Regions from separate parts of the Homo sapiens genome. Here region 2 is linked to region 1. The links are contacts of gene promoters, found by promoter capture Hi-C in blood cells and fetal thymus (Javierre and others, 2016). All regions are on one chromosome and are shown on one strand. Each heading gives the region's core, a stretch centred on a gene start or on the middle of the fragment in contact. The rest is flanking DNA. Distances are from core to core; before and after follow the strand shown. Region 1 holds the start of XPO5 (exportin 5). Region 2 has its middle 3.8 kb from the start of SCIRT.

What was found. The method cuts DNA at HindIII sites, captures the fragments that hold promoters and counts their contacts. A CHiCAGO score of 5 or more calls a contact.
Region 2: a contact is called between a fragment that was not itself captured here and the fragment with the promoter of XPO5 in region 1, in 10 of 17 cell types (erythroblasts, M1 macrophages, neutrophils and 7 more). The highest score is 10.6, in erythroblasts.

The regions. Positions count from the first base shown.
Region 1 is chr6:43,572,855-43,578,958 of GRCh38, forward strand. It overlaps XPO5 (exportin 5), which reads right to left and starts at 3,184. Exons shown (of 32, transcript NM_020750.3): 1 at 2,906-3,184; 2 at 626-747. The coding sequence starts at 3,010. POLH (DNA polymerase eta) reads left to right here and starts at 3,331. Exons shown (of 11, transcript NM_006502.3): 1 at 3,331-3,586. RefSeq lists a silencer at 3,131-3,330 and enhancers at 3,351-3,600, 4,929-5,429. The HindIII fragment of the contact is 3,950 bases long and covers 2,171-6,104 here.
Region 2 is chr6:44,075,580-44,081,332 of GRCh38, forward strand. No RefSeq gene overlaps it. Among named protein-coding and RNA genes, the nearest start is that of SCIRT, 3.8 kb to the left of the region's middle. RefSeq lists an enhancer at 84-153. The HindIII fragment of the contact is 7,345 bases long and covers 1-5,635 here.

The sequences.
Region 1 (6,104 bases), core at 1,934-4,433:
TGATGGGCCAAAAGTGAATATACATCTAGGTCAACTGCAACAATGTACTTGCTTTTCAGAAAATGCAGTTTTGACATCAGTCATTTTCTGTGCTGGCTTACAAAACAATTCTGGAAAAACTATGGCTAAGTCTTAAAGGCTACCTCTTCTGATAGGTGTTGAGGGTAGGACAATCAAGTTAGGATGGGTTTTCAGTTATTCTCATACAATCCTGCTTTGGATGTACCACCCAGAGAAGGCACACAAACTCAGAAAGACAGAGAGAAAAAAGAAAGCCACAGTGCCTAATCAGAGATTCATTGACCTATACATTGCATTACTCTAAAAAGGCTTCGAGGGCTAATGACATATAGTCAGAGCTCAGTAAGTATTGGCTAAATGGCAGGTAATATTTGTTGAATGGGTAATATGTACCACACACTTTACATGGATGAAGAAACTGAAGAAAAGAAAGGTTAAATCTTGAATGAGAGCTCCTGTGAGGTTCTGATAACATCTAGGGGATCATTCCTCTCTTCTTGGAGATTGCTCTTCTCTACTCACCTAAACAGCATCTCTATAGGTTATATAAGATATAAAGATCTGTTCTCTCAGACTTCAGTGGTAATGTCCAAGAGCTCCTTACTTGACAACGTGTTCCAGGATCTGAAGGCCAAAATGTCTGACGATGGCAACTTGTGTTTTCTCAGCCAACCTCAAGCCACAGGGGACACAGATAGGACACTTTTCTTTAAACTCCTCACAAAACTGAAAGAAGAAAAGTTAGTGTTTCCTTTCGAGGGCTGAGAGAATAGGGACTAAAAGAATTTCATCTTAAGAAACTCCAACCAGGGCCGGGTGCGGTGGCTCACACCTGTCCCAGCACTCTGGGAGGCTGAGATGGGTGGACTACTTGAGTCTAGGAGTCTGAGACTAGCCTAGGCAACATGGCGAAACCCCATCTCTATTAAATATATATATATATATATATTTTTTTTTTTTTTTTTTGAGACGGAGTCTCACTCTGTCGCCCAGGCTGGAATGCAATGGCATGATCTCGGCTCACTGCAACCTCTGCTTCCCAGGTTCAAGCAGTTCTCCTGCCTCAGCCTCCTGAGCCCATGTAGCTGGGACTACAAGTGCACGCCACCACACCCAGCTAATTTTTGTATTTTTAGTAGAAACAAGGTTTCATCATGTTGACCAGGCTGGTCTTGAACTCCTGACCTCAGGTGACCCACCTGCCTTGGCCTCCCAAAGTGCTGGGATTACAGGCGTGAGCCACTGTGCCCGGCCCACTAAAAATATTTTTTTAAATTAGCCGGGCATGGTGGCAGGTGCCTGTAATCCCAGCTACTCAGGAGGCTGAAGTGGTAGGAGAATCACTTGAGCTCGAGAAATCAAGGCTGAAGTGAGCCGAGATCTCACCACTGCACGCCAGCCTGGACAACCAGAGTGAGACCCTACTCAAAAAGAAACTCCAACCTAAGCTATATGTTTAAAGTTGCAAAACCTAGATCAATATTATGTGGATCTCCAAGCACAGTTGCTTTAAAAATATATATTTAATATAAAAATAAAAATATAAAATATATAAAAGTTACACATATATAACATTTCCTCCAAGTGGTGTTCACTCTATTTTATGTGTATATATTATATATATATTATGAATAAAGAACTGATAAACATTCCTTCCAGCGTGATGGTTCCAGATTTTTTCCATGCTACGGCCAACAGTAGCCCTACTAGTGTTGGAAAAAAATGGACACAAAGGAATAAGAAATTATTTGTTAGAGACATCCCCCTGACGTACATAGGGGTGAAATAACAATTTCTAGGGTTTCTTTTAAAAACCTTCGAGGCAGGGAGAGAGGATAGGCGGTGGAAAAAGTAAATGCGGTAAAATCTTTGATTGCTGAATTTAGGTGACAGGAACATGCAGAATCACTGTCGTATTCTCTCCACTTTTGTGTCTATTTTAAATATTAATAATAAAAACCAAACTAATGGAACCCAATTGTTTCTGATTCCAAACCCTGTGGCAGACATCTACATATTGTAACATTTCCTCCAAGTGGTGGTCACTCTCTTTTTTGAAGTTAACATCACTTTAAAAATGTACAGCACAAGTATTTTCTCCTAAATGGCCATTTCTCACAGCCCACACACGTTGTTTTATGGGCAAGTAAGCTTGAATTGTATTAACACCCCCAAACTGCAACATAAGTCAGTCCCAAGAGCAGAGCATTCGGGTCTCACGCAAACTACTTTCAGGAAACCAAAGTGCCCTTGTTAAAATGCAAAGTAAGTGGTAGAAGTTATCTTTGCGCAAAATAGCCTAAAAATATTACACTCAAAAACATGGGAGAAGTAGGGGTGCGAGAATTTCCCCGGAAAATGTCCAAGACACAAACGAAAGTTAGCGAGATGTTAAAGCATATAAGCATAAGGGTACCAGAGGGGCTGGAGCTCGGTCAGGGCCAGGGGAGTGGGCCAGCAGGAAAACGTTTAGTGCAGGAGAGACCATAAAGAACGAAGCTGGTGTTGGGGGCGGGATCTACACGTGCGCCTCGGGAAGGCGAGGGGATGTCGGGCTTGGGGAATGAAAATGGGCGAGGGTCATGTTGCGGACAAGAGTGCACAGAAGCGAGGAAAGGGGGAGGAGAGGGCTGTGGGAAGCTGCGGCGAGATGAGAAGCAGCATAGGGACCGGAGTGTCCCAGGCAAAGGACAGGAGCGGCGAGTAGAGAAGGCGGCGATTTGGGAGAGGCGCGGAGGGCCGCGAGGGGAAGGTCCCGGGGAGTTGGGAAAGGAGGTCCAGGGGCCGCGTGGGCGGGAGACTACCCCAGTTACAGGCGGCGCCGGAGCTGCTGGGGCTGGGAGAGGGTGTCGGGACCGGCCCAGGACGCCAGGACCCCAGCTACCTTGAGGGCTTCCAGCCGGTAGCGCTGGGTGGAGTTGGGGTCCATCATGACCGTCACCGCTTTCACCAGCTGCTCGCACAGCGCGTTTACTTGATCCATCGCCATGCCTAGCGCCACGCGCCGAGAGCGCACACCACTGCAGTCCCGGGACCACGAGGCACGACAGCTCCCTCGGCGAGACCACCCGTTGGTACCGGGCCGCGGCGGGCGGCGGGGGTGGGAAGCTGGAGGAGGAGCGTTAGCAGCAACTCGCGCTGGGAAGAAGCCGGCGCTGCGCACGCGCCCGGCCCGCCACTGCGCACGCGCCCGCGGAAGTGGCGGCTCCCGTGTGCAGGTTGAGCCTAGGTGGGCGGGGCGGGAGGCGGAAGGGCCGCGGTGCGCAGCCGCGTCAACGGCCCTTCGCAGCGGGCGCGCTGTCAGACCTCAGTCTGGCGGCTGCATTGCTGGGCGCGCCGCTCTCGTCTGATCCCTGCTGGGGACGGTTGCCCGGGCAGGATCCTTTACGATCCCTTCTCGGTTTCTCCGTCGTCACAGGGAATAAATCTCGCTCGAAACTCACTGGACCGCTCCTAGAAAGGCGAAAAGATATTCAGGAGCCCTTCCATTTTCCTTCCAGTAGGCACCGAACCCAGCATTTTCGGCAACCGCTGCTGGCAGTTTTGCCAGGTGTTTGTTACCTTGGTAAGAAAATTTAGAACCGTTCGCTGTCACTGTGTTCAGACTTTCTATGTTGCCTTGGCTATTGGTTTTATAATGTAGCAGTGACTGGGCCAAGGTTGCGTGAAATATAAATCATGCTAACAGGGATAAGGCCCTGGTACTGTCTTCTAAGATTTTTCTTGTAGAAAAAAGTATGTTTTTCCCTGTAGTTGTTAAACCTCTCTCTTGGAATTACTTTCCTGGATGTATTATTACCTGGTGGGCACTAAACTTGTTTTGTGCGGATTGGGGTAACTCGAGATGTTTAAAGGGAATAATTGCAATCAGTGAAGGTTTGTGCAGTTTTGATAATTGGCCAAGTGCTATGTATAAGGTTTCAAAGTAGTGTAATCCTTATCCAAAAGCATGGCTTGGGCAGAAAGTCTTCTTCATTTTCCATCTTTATAAAGCTCTTGGCCGGGCGCGGTGGCTCACGCCTGTAATCCCAGCACTTTGGGAGGCGGAGGCGGGCGGATCACCTGAGGTCAGGAGTTCGAGACCAGCCTCACCAACATGGTGAAACCCCGTTTCTACTAAACATACAAAAATTATGTTTGCATTTTTAGTATTTTTATACAGGCGTGGCGGTGCGCGCCTGTAATCCCAGCTACTCGGGAGGCTGAGGTGGGAGAATCGCTTGAACCCGGGAGGCGGAGGTTCAGTGAGCCGAGATCGCGCCTTTGCACTCCAGCCTGGGCGACAGAGCGAAACTCCGTCTCAAAAATAAATAAATAAAGCTCTTGCTTTCTCCAGTAAATACATAAACGGAAAACCTCAACAGCTTTATTATCTGTTAAAGTCTGCATGTCTGTTTTTGTGATTGTGTGCTTAGTAAATTGTGTGCTGAACATAAATCACTGCTTCCTATTCTTGCTCCACTTCTGGTATTTGGATCTAATATGGTGCTTAGCCTGTGTTTTTTTGTGTTACAATACTATTTGTTGGCTCAGTCTGTTCCAGTACTACTGAAAAGCCACTTCAAAGTAGAGGGACTTCTGGCATGTTATAGTTTTAACTTGTAAATGTTTAAAGTATCACATTCTGCCTGTTTTAGGCGTGGTCGATTGGAATTTATAAGGAATTAATGCTTTGACTGCTCTGATTTTAATTATTTTTCTTTCCACTCACCTTCCTGCTTTGCAGTTGTAAGACGTTTTTTTTTTCAAGGTGAATGTTAGTTTTTGAAAAACTTTTTTTAGAATACAGTTGGGTGCTCACTCAACTGTATAACCTGTGTTTCTCGTATTTAAATCATGGATTGCTGGTGTTTCGATTGTCTTATTTAGGTCTTGGCTCCCAAACTGCTGCATATTGGAATTACCTGGAGAGCTTTTAAAAATCCCCGGCCTGGCGCGGTGGCACACGCCTGTAATCCCAGCACTTTGGGAGGCCGAGGCGGGCGGATCACGAGGTCAGGAGATCGAGACCATCCTGGCTAACACGGTGAAACCCCGTCTCTACTAAAAATACAAAAAATTAGCCGGGCGGGGTGGCACGCGCCTGTAGTCCCAGCTAATGGGGATGAGGCAGAGGAATCACTTGAAACCGGGAGATGGAGGTTGCAGTGAGCTGAGATCTCACCACTGCACTTCAGCCTGGGTGACAGACGGAGACTCTGTCTAGGAAAAAAAAAAATCCCCATGCTAGGCCGAGCGCGATGGCTCACGCCTGTAATCCCAGCACTTTGGGAGGCCGAGGTGGGTGGATCGCCTAAGGTCAGGAGTTAGAGACTAGCCTGGCCAACATGGTGAAACCCAGTCTCTACTCGAAATACAAAAATTAGCCGGGCGTGGTGGCGTGCGCCTGTAATCCCAGCTACTCAGGAGGCTGAGGCAGGAGAATCGCTTGAACCCGGGAGGCGTAGGTTGCAGTGAGCCGAGACTGTGCCATTGCACTCCAGCCTGCGCAACGAGAACGAAACTCTAACTCAAAAACAACAACAACAACAAAAAACTCATGCCCAGGTCATACCCATACCAATTAAGTTAGTATATATAGTTGTGGAAGTCAAATATCAGTAGTATTTAAAGCAGCCTGGCGGGGGGACAAGAGCGAGACTTTGTCTCAAAAAAAAAAAAGTGTCATGGTCATGAAAAACAAGGAACAACCGAGGAAATGCCACAGATTGGGGGGCAGTAAAGTATGTAGTTAATAATATGCCAATGTTCATTTTTAAATTTTGGTAATTGTGTTAAGTAAGATGTTAACATCAGGAAACTGGGAGTAGGAGAACTCTACCATTTTTGCGATTTTCTGTAAGTCTAAAAGTATTTCAGAGTAAAAGGTTGACATTTTTCATGAATGCTATGATGTTATATATTATTTTCTCCTTCTCTTTTCTCTGAATTTATACTTGAGATTTGTCTGTCAACTGATTCCGTATTGGTTCTCTTCCCCTGGTGATGTGCATTTTAATTTCCATTTCCCCATGACTAATGATGGTGAGCCTATTTTTATGTGCCAATTGGCTATGTTTGTATTTTGTGGTTAGTTCTTTTAA
Region 2 (5,753 bases), core at 713-3,212, 500 kb after region 1:
GGCAGCAGGTGCCAAGAACTGCTAGCTTCTAGGACCTGACCCTCAAGTTGCTTCTCCTGCTGAGGGGCTTCTAGGGTCACCCTCAGGGCCTTGACATCTGCACACATCTGCACAGGCCCTTCACCAGGGACTTAACCTCCAAAGGCAGCTCCTGCTCCCAGCCTTCACAGGCCCCCCTAGGGCCCAAGTCCCCAGACCCAACCTCAGTCTGCAAGCTGGCCAAGTCAGAGGTCCTGGCTGCCTGGACCACTCCCAAGCAGTAAATGGCACTGTGGGCTTCCTCCATCCTGTCTTCCCCGCCCCACTTCATTGATTCACTGACTTCCAACTTACTGGTCAGGCCCCCTTCCAGACCCTGCCTGGATGAAGAGGACTCCCAGAAGCAGTGATTGAAGGCCTAGGAGGATACAGAGAGCCAGGTGCTTTAATTGGAGGTAATTAGTTAATTTACTCTGAAAGCAATGGGGCAGGGCGGGGACAGGGGGAGGAGAGGGGAGGGGAGGAGGTAGGGGGCTGTGACCTAACTGGGCTCAAACTCTCAAACTCTGGTCAGCCTCCTTCTGGACCACAGCAAACCTGTGTGTACCCACCCACTTAGGAGACCCTCTCCTGGGCCCCAGGTCAGAGCAAGACCCAAAGTGGACTAGGGTGGCTCTGCAGAAAAAGCAGGTGCCCTGGGGTGGTGGGAACAGGCCTTTTGAGGTTAGGGAGGTGTGGACTGGCATGAGGGAATTGGAGAGGTGCAAGGAGCTCTGGGATGGGAACTGGTCCCTCTCCTGTCACGTATAATTCCATCCCTCCCAAGGTCATTGCTGTCACCCAAGTTAGGGGCCCAGCCCCCTCCTTTGGTCAGTGAAGTCCCAGGGCAGCCCATTTTAAATACAACGGGGCCTGAAGGCTAACTTCTGGCCTTCCTGCTTCGGGAAATCATTCCAATAACCGGGAAAAAAGGGGGCCCGAGGACAGAGCCCCTGCCGGGCCCCAGGGGGAGTGTCGTCGGCTCCTTTGCGTCGCCGGCCGGCGGCGTGGCGGGGACTCTGGCCGGCAGCCTCCCGCGCCGTCCGGAGCAGCTGACCCGCTGGCGGTGGGCCAGGTCGCGGCGGGGCCTGGAGGCAGCAACGTGCGGCGCGGCATGTCGCGGGCGCCGCGGCAGGGAAATGTGGGGGCGGGCCGGCGCGCCCCCTCCCCCCCGCCTACGCTGGCCCATTCATAAAACCTGCAGGCGCTGCCCGGCCTGGCAGCCTTGGTCTCCTAATTGCAAACTCATTAAGGAGTTTGCATCTCATTTGCATGGAAATCATTTCCTGGCCCTAAACAGAGAAACTTCCCGCCCCTCCACCAGCCCCTCTCTGCCCTGCTTTACCCATGCACAGTCTGGGAGAGGAGAGGGGGCATATCTCTGACCTGCGCCCCTTCCCTGGCCTCACCACCACCCTCCCACTTTAGGAGTTGGGGAAGGGATTGGCAGAACACCCACCCAGCCAGGAGCCCTGCCTGTGCCCCAGGTGAGCCGGCCCTGCCCTAGTGGGTCCAACTGAGGGGAGGTGCCTGCCAAGTCATTTGCCCCCCGGCCTGGCCGTGCCCAGGGAAGGGAGGAGGCGGTCGGCAGTTGGCCCCAGCAGCTGGTTGTACCTGGCAGGAGGTGGGTGAGGCTTTTCGTGCCCAGCCTCACGTACGTGCCCTGCCATAGGCCGTGCCCCCACCCCCACACCCCTCACCCCACAGAACAAGCGCCTAGTGACTGCAGAAACAGACACCCAGTCATGGCACACAAAGGCACCCACACCAGGCCAGCCATCATGGCTGCCCCCCTGGCAGCCACCCTGGAGGGCAGACAGATGCCTTCACAAGCCATTTTGTCTTTCTCCAGCTTGGTGCCAGGACTGGGGGTGGGGGAAAGGGTTTCTCCTGAGACTTCTCTGAGTAAGGGGGCCCACAGAGGGGTTTCCTTATGTACCCCAGCTGTGGCCTCTTGCCCCCTCTCTCCTGTAACCCATGTTTACAGAGGCCTCCAAGTGCTCTACCCTGCATGGGGACCTGCCCAGGCGAGGGGGTCACAGGAGCCTCCAACCCAGGAGGGGAAGTGAGAGATAAAGCCCCTAAGGAAGGGACACCTAAGTGCCTCCCCAACCAGGGTCTGTCCTTCGTGTCCCAAGTGTGTGTAGTGGAGGGAGTGCTCCCCAGTTTCCTGGGGGTTGAGGTGGGGCGGTATTCTAAACCTTTGGAAATGGAATAGAACTACCTAAAGTATATGAAATTAGATACTACTTGGGACACTATGTCTTGGTTCTGTATGTCCTGGGACAGTGTAAAAAGTGATCACAAAATTTTCAACATCACAGTCTAAAATAAAAACCTGCCTCTTGTCTGCCTCCTCAGACATAAACCTGCTTACGCTTCCCATCTGCCCACACTCCCACCTGCTGTATCTGAAGTTTCTCCCTTCCTTTGCTAGGGCATAAAGGGGTGGGCAAGGATGTTCTGGAACACTGACCACACATCCGTCCTGAGTATGGCTGGACTGACCCTACCCTCCCAGCTCCTGGAGCAGTTGGGTTCCAAGTGCCATATGTGTGCGTGGTTCAGGGGTACTGGAAGAAAGTTTTAGAATGCCTATTTATTTTTCATCGAATCCTTTTTTCATTTAGTGTGAGTGTGTTTTACAAGGTAAACTATATAAAAACATACTCATCTGACGGGTGCGTACTCAACAATCTTTTTTATTGCTAAGGGCACATGATCAAAAAAACTTCGGAGGTCACTGGCCTAGACTTCAGGTGGGGCAGCTGTGGGCAGGGGATGGCTTGTCTTGTCCATCTAAGTATCCAGCCTGACACATGACTAGTTCAGAGCCTGGCAGGGAGCAGAGGTCAGGGACACAGTATTGAATGAATGAAGTCCACCCCTAGAACTGACAGATGAGGAAACTGAAATAATTCTGGGGCGGGGAGATTGCTCAGAGGAGGACATGGGCAGGTTGAGAGAGTCTCCCCTCATTGCTGCTATGTCTGCAGCCTGCCCGTGTCCAACACCCAGCACCCACACAAACCTTACTTCTACCCACCCCAGGGAGCACAGCTCCCTCCTCTGCCTACCAGCAGAGTGGCCACCTGTCTTGAGCTTCTTACTGGATCCTGATTAGCAGAGCCAGACAGGGTTGTCACCTGCCATATCCCTCTACGTGGCAGAAAGTCTGTTGCCAGCTTTGTATCCTAGAACTCTCTGGAAGTCAATCTGGTGTAGGAGAAAGAATTTAGGCTCCAGACAGGCGTCAGTCCTCATCCAGCTTGGTGACCTTGGGCACAACACATAACTGGTATAAGCCTCAGTTTCCCAATCTGTATCTTGGGACCAATATTTGTACTTACTGTACAGAGTTGTTGTGAATGTTGAGTAGCCCACTGTGTGTGTAGGCTCTGGCATATACTAGGTGTTCAGTAAGATTCCTGTCCCTCTGTGTGCAGCAGGTGCCCCATGAAGAATCTGTTGAATTGTGATTTGACATCAGCATGGGAAGGAGAATTCCGAAGGCAGACAAATGAGCCTTTGCTCCCTCCTCTGCCTGCTGGCACGGTGCCCACCAGTCTGAGTTCTGTCCTGCACCTTCCTGCAGAAATGAAGCAGCCACTCTGGCAGCCTTGGGTCCCCTCCAGGCTCATCCACTCTGTGGTGGGGTGTCCTCCTCCTTTTCTCCCTTACAGCTCCTTTCCCTTTTTCTGTGCTGCCTTCACTTCAAGCATGAGCTGAGGGTGACTCCTGGTGGCCATTCATATAACTGCAGAATCCTGACCATTGTCACCGCCACCTGGAAGTGCATGAAGTCGAGTGTGCAAGGAAGCCATTCTTCACACTTTCCCTACACCTCCCAACTCCCTGTCAGGGCCCTGGGGAGCCTCAGGGGTGGCCACTCCCCGGGGACTCCACCCTCCGAAGTTCCACCTCTAAGGGCTTCACTTGCCTGATGGGTGGGGACGATCAAGGAGGCCTCTGCCCAGATCCTGCAGCACCAGGCCTGCCCCAGGCAAAAAGCAGGACAGTGGCTACTCTTCCCTCAAGTGCCACTGAACACTTTGCAGGCATCATTTTGTCCAATTCTTATCACTGGAGCCCATTATCACAAAGAAGAAACCAAGGTTAAGCAACTTGCCAAGGGTCACACAGCTCCTCAGTGCCCAAATGGTGAAATGAATACAGGTGACACTCAGTGGGACACCAGACCAGCCCCTGGGGGACAGAAGAGGCCTATAGGAAGGAGCCTGCCATGGGGTTAGAAGCCTCAGATTCTGACCCGACCTTGCCCCAACTAGTGGGGTGGCCTCCATCAAGGGCCTCTGCTCACTGAGCCTCAGCCTCCTCGATGGCATCATGGGGCGGAGGACAGAGCAGGATTCTCAGATTGGCTGTACATGGGAATCACTGGGAGGATTTTTCAAATACCCATGTTTGCCCAGCCCTGACTAAGGAAATCAAAATTGGTAGGGGTTGGCTAAGACAAAGGTAATTTTAAGAAAATATTTCTAGGTGATTCTATAGGCAGCCAGGGTTGAGAATGGGTCCTCTAGGAGTTCCCCATCTTCAGACTTCCCAGCCCTCTAGAGGTCAGCTCCCCAGGGCTCCCCTCTGTCCTAAGGGCTCTCCAGATAAACTTTTTTTTTTTTTTGAGACGGAGTCTCGCTCTGTTGCCCAGGCTGGAGTGCAGTAGCGCAATCTCAGCTCACTGCAAGCTCCGCCTCCCGGGTTCACGCCATTCTCCTCCCTCAGCCTCCTGAGTAGCTGAGACTACAGGTGCCTGCCACCACACGTGGCTAATTTTTTTTGTTTTTTTTTAGTAGAGGCGGGGTCTCACCGTGTTAGCCAGGATGGTCTCAATCTCTTGACCTCATGATCCGCCTGCCTCAGCCTTCCAAAGTGCTGGGATTACAGGCGTGAGCCACCGCACCCGGCCCAGAGAAACTATCTTAGCTTGTCTACCCAGACCCACAAGAAGCTGCCTCCCAACCACCCAAGGGGACACAGGCCCATCAACCCTTTCCAGAGGGGGCACAGTAGGCTTGAGACTCTTGAGTCTCTGACCCCCAGCCTGGCCTCTGGGGTGGGGGGAGAGAAAGTCATAGGGAGCTTAACCTCAACAGGATGAAGGCGCCATAATTAGGGTCAGGCGGTTGGCTCAGCCTGCGGAAATCCCCAGCTTAGTAGGGATGGGGAGTGGCACTGCAGCCTGCGGGAGGGTTCAGGGCAGAAGTGAGGGGGCAGGGGGAGCCCAGGCACATGGAAACCCAGGACCTAGGCCCCAATTGCATCCTGAGAGGGCCCACTGGGGGCTTCTCAACACAGTTCACTCCCTCCCTGGGGTTGCTGAACCCCAGGGAGGGAGGGAAAGGCTGACCAGCCCCCCAACCCCAGAGACCCTACTGCTCCCTCAGGCTGGGGTGCATCAGGATCATCCCCCTACCCCAGCCTTTGTCAGGAGGAGGAGGGCACCGGTGGGAAAAGGCTACGTGAGTGTTCCCAGGGCGACCCAGGCTTTTCTCCTGACTGTAATCCTCAGGCCTTGAGAGAGGGATCGCTTTCCACTGTGGAATGTAACAAAGGGGACAAAATGGGGCAGGGGAGGGGGGCAGAAGCCAGGGAGGGAAGCTTGCAGGGTGGTACTTTTAGCCCCCAAAAGGCCCTCCAGGAGGCAGCTGCACAGAGAGAACCCCCCTGCCCCCATGACTCCCTGAGCCTGTCATCCAGCTCACCCCAGGGCACAG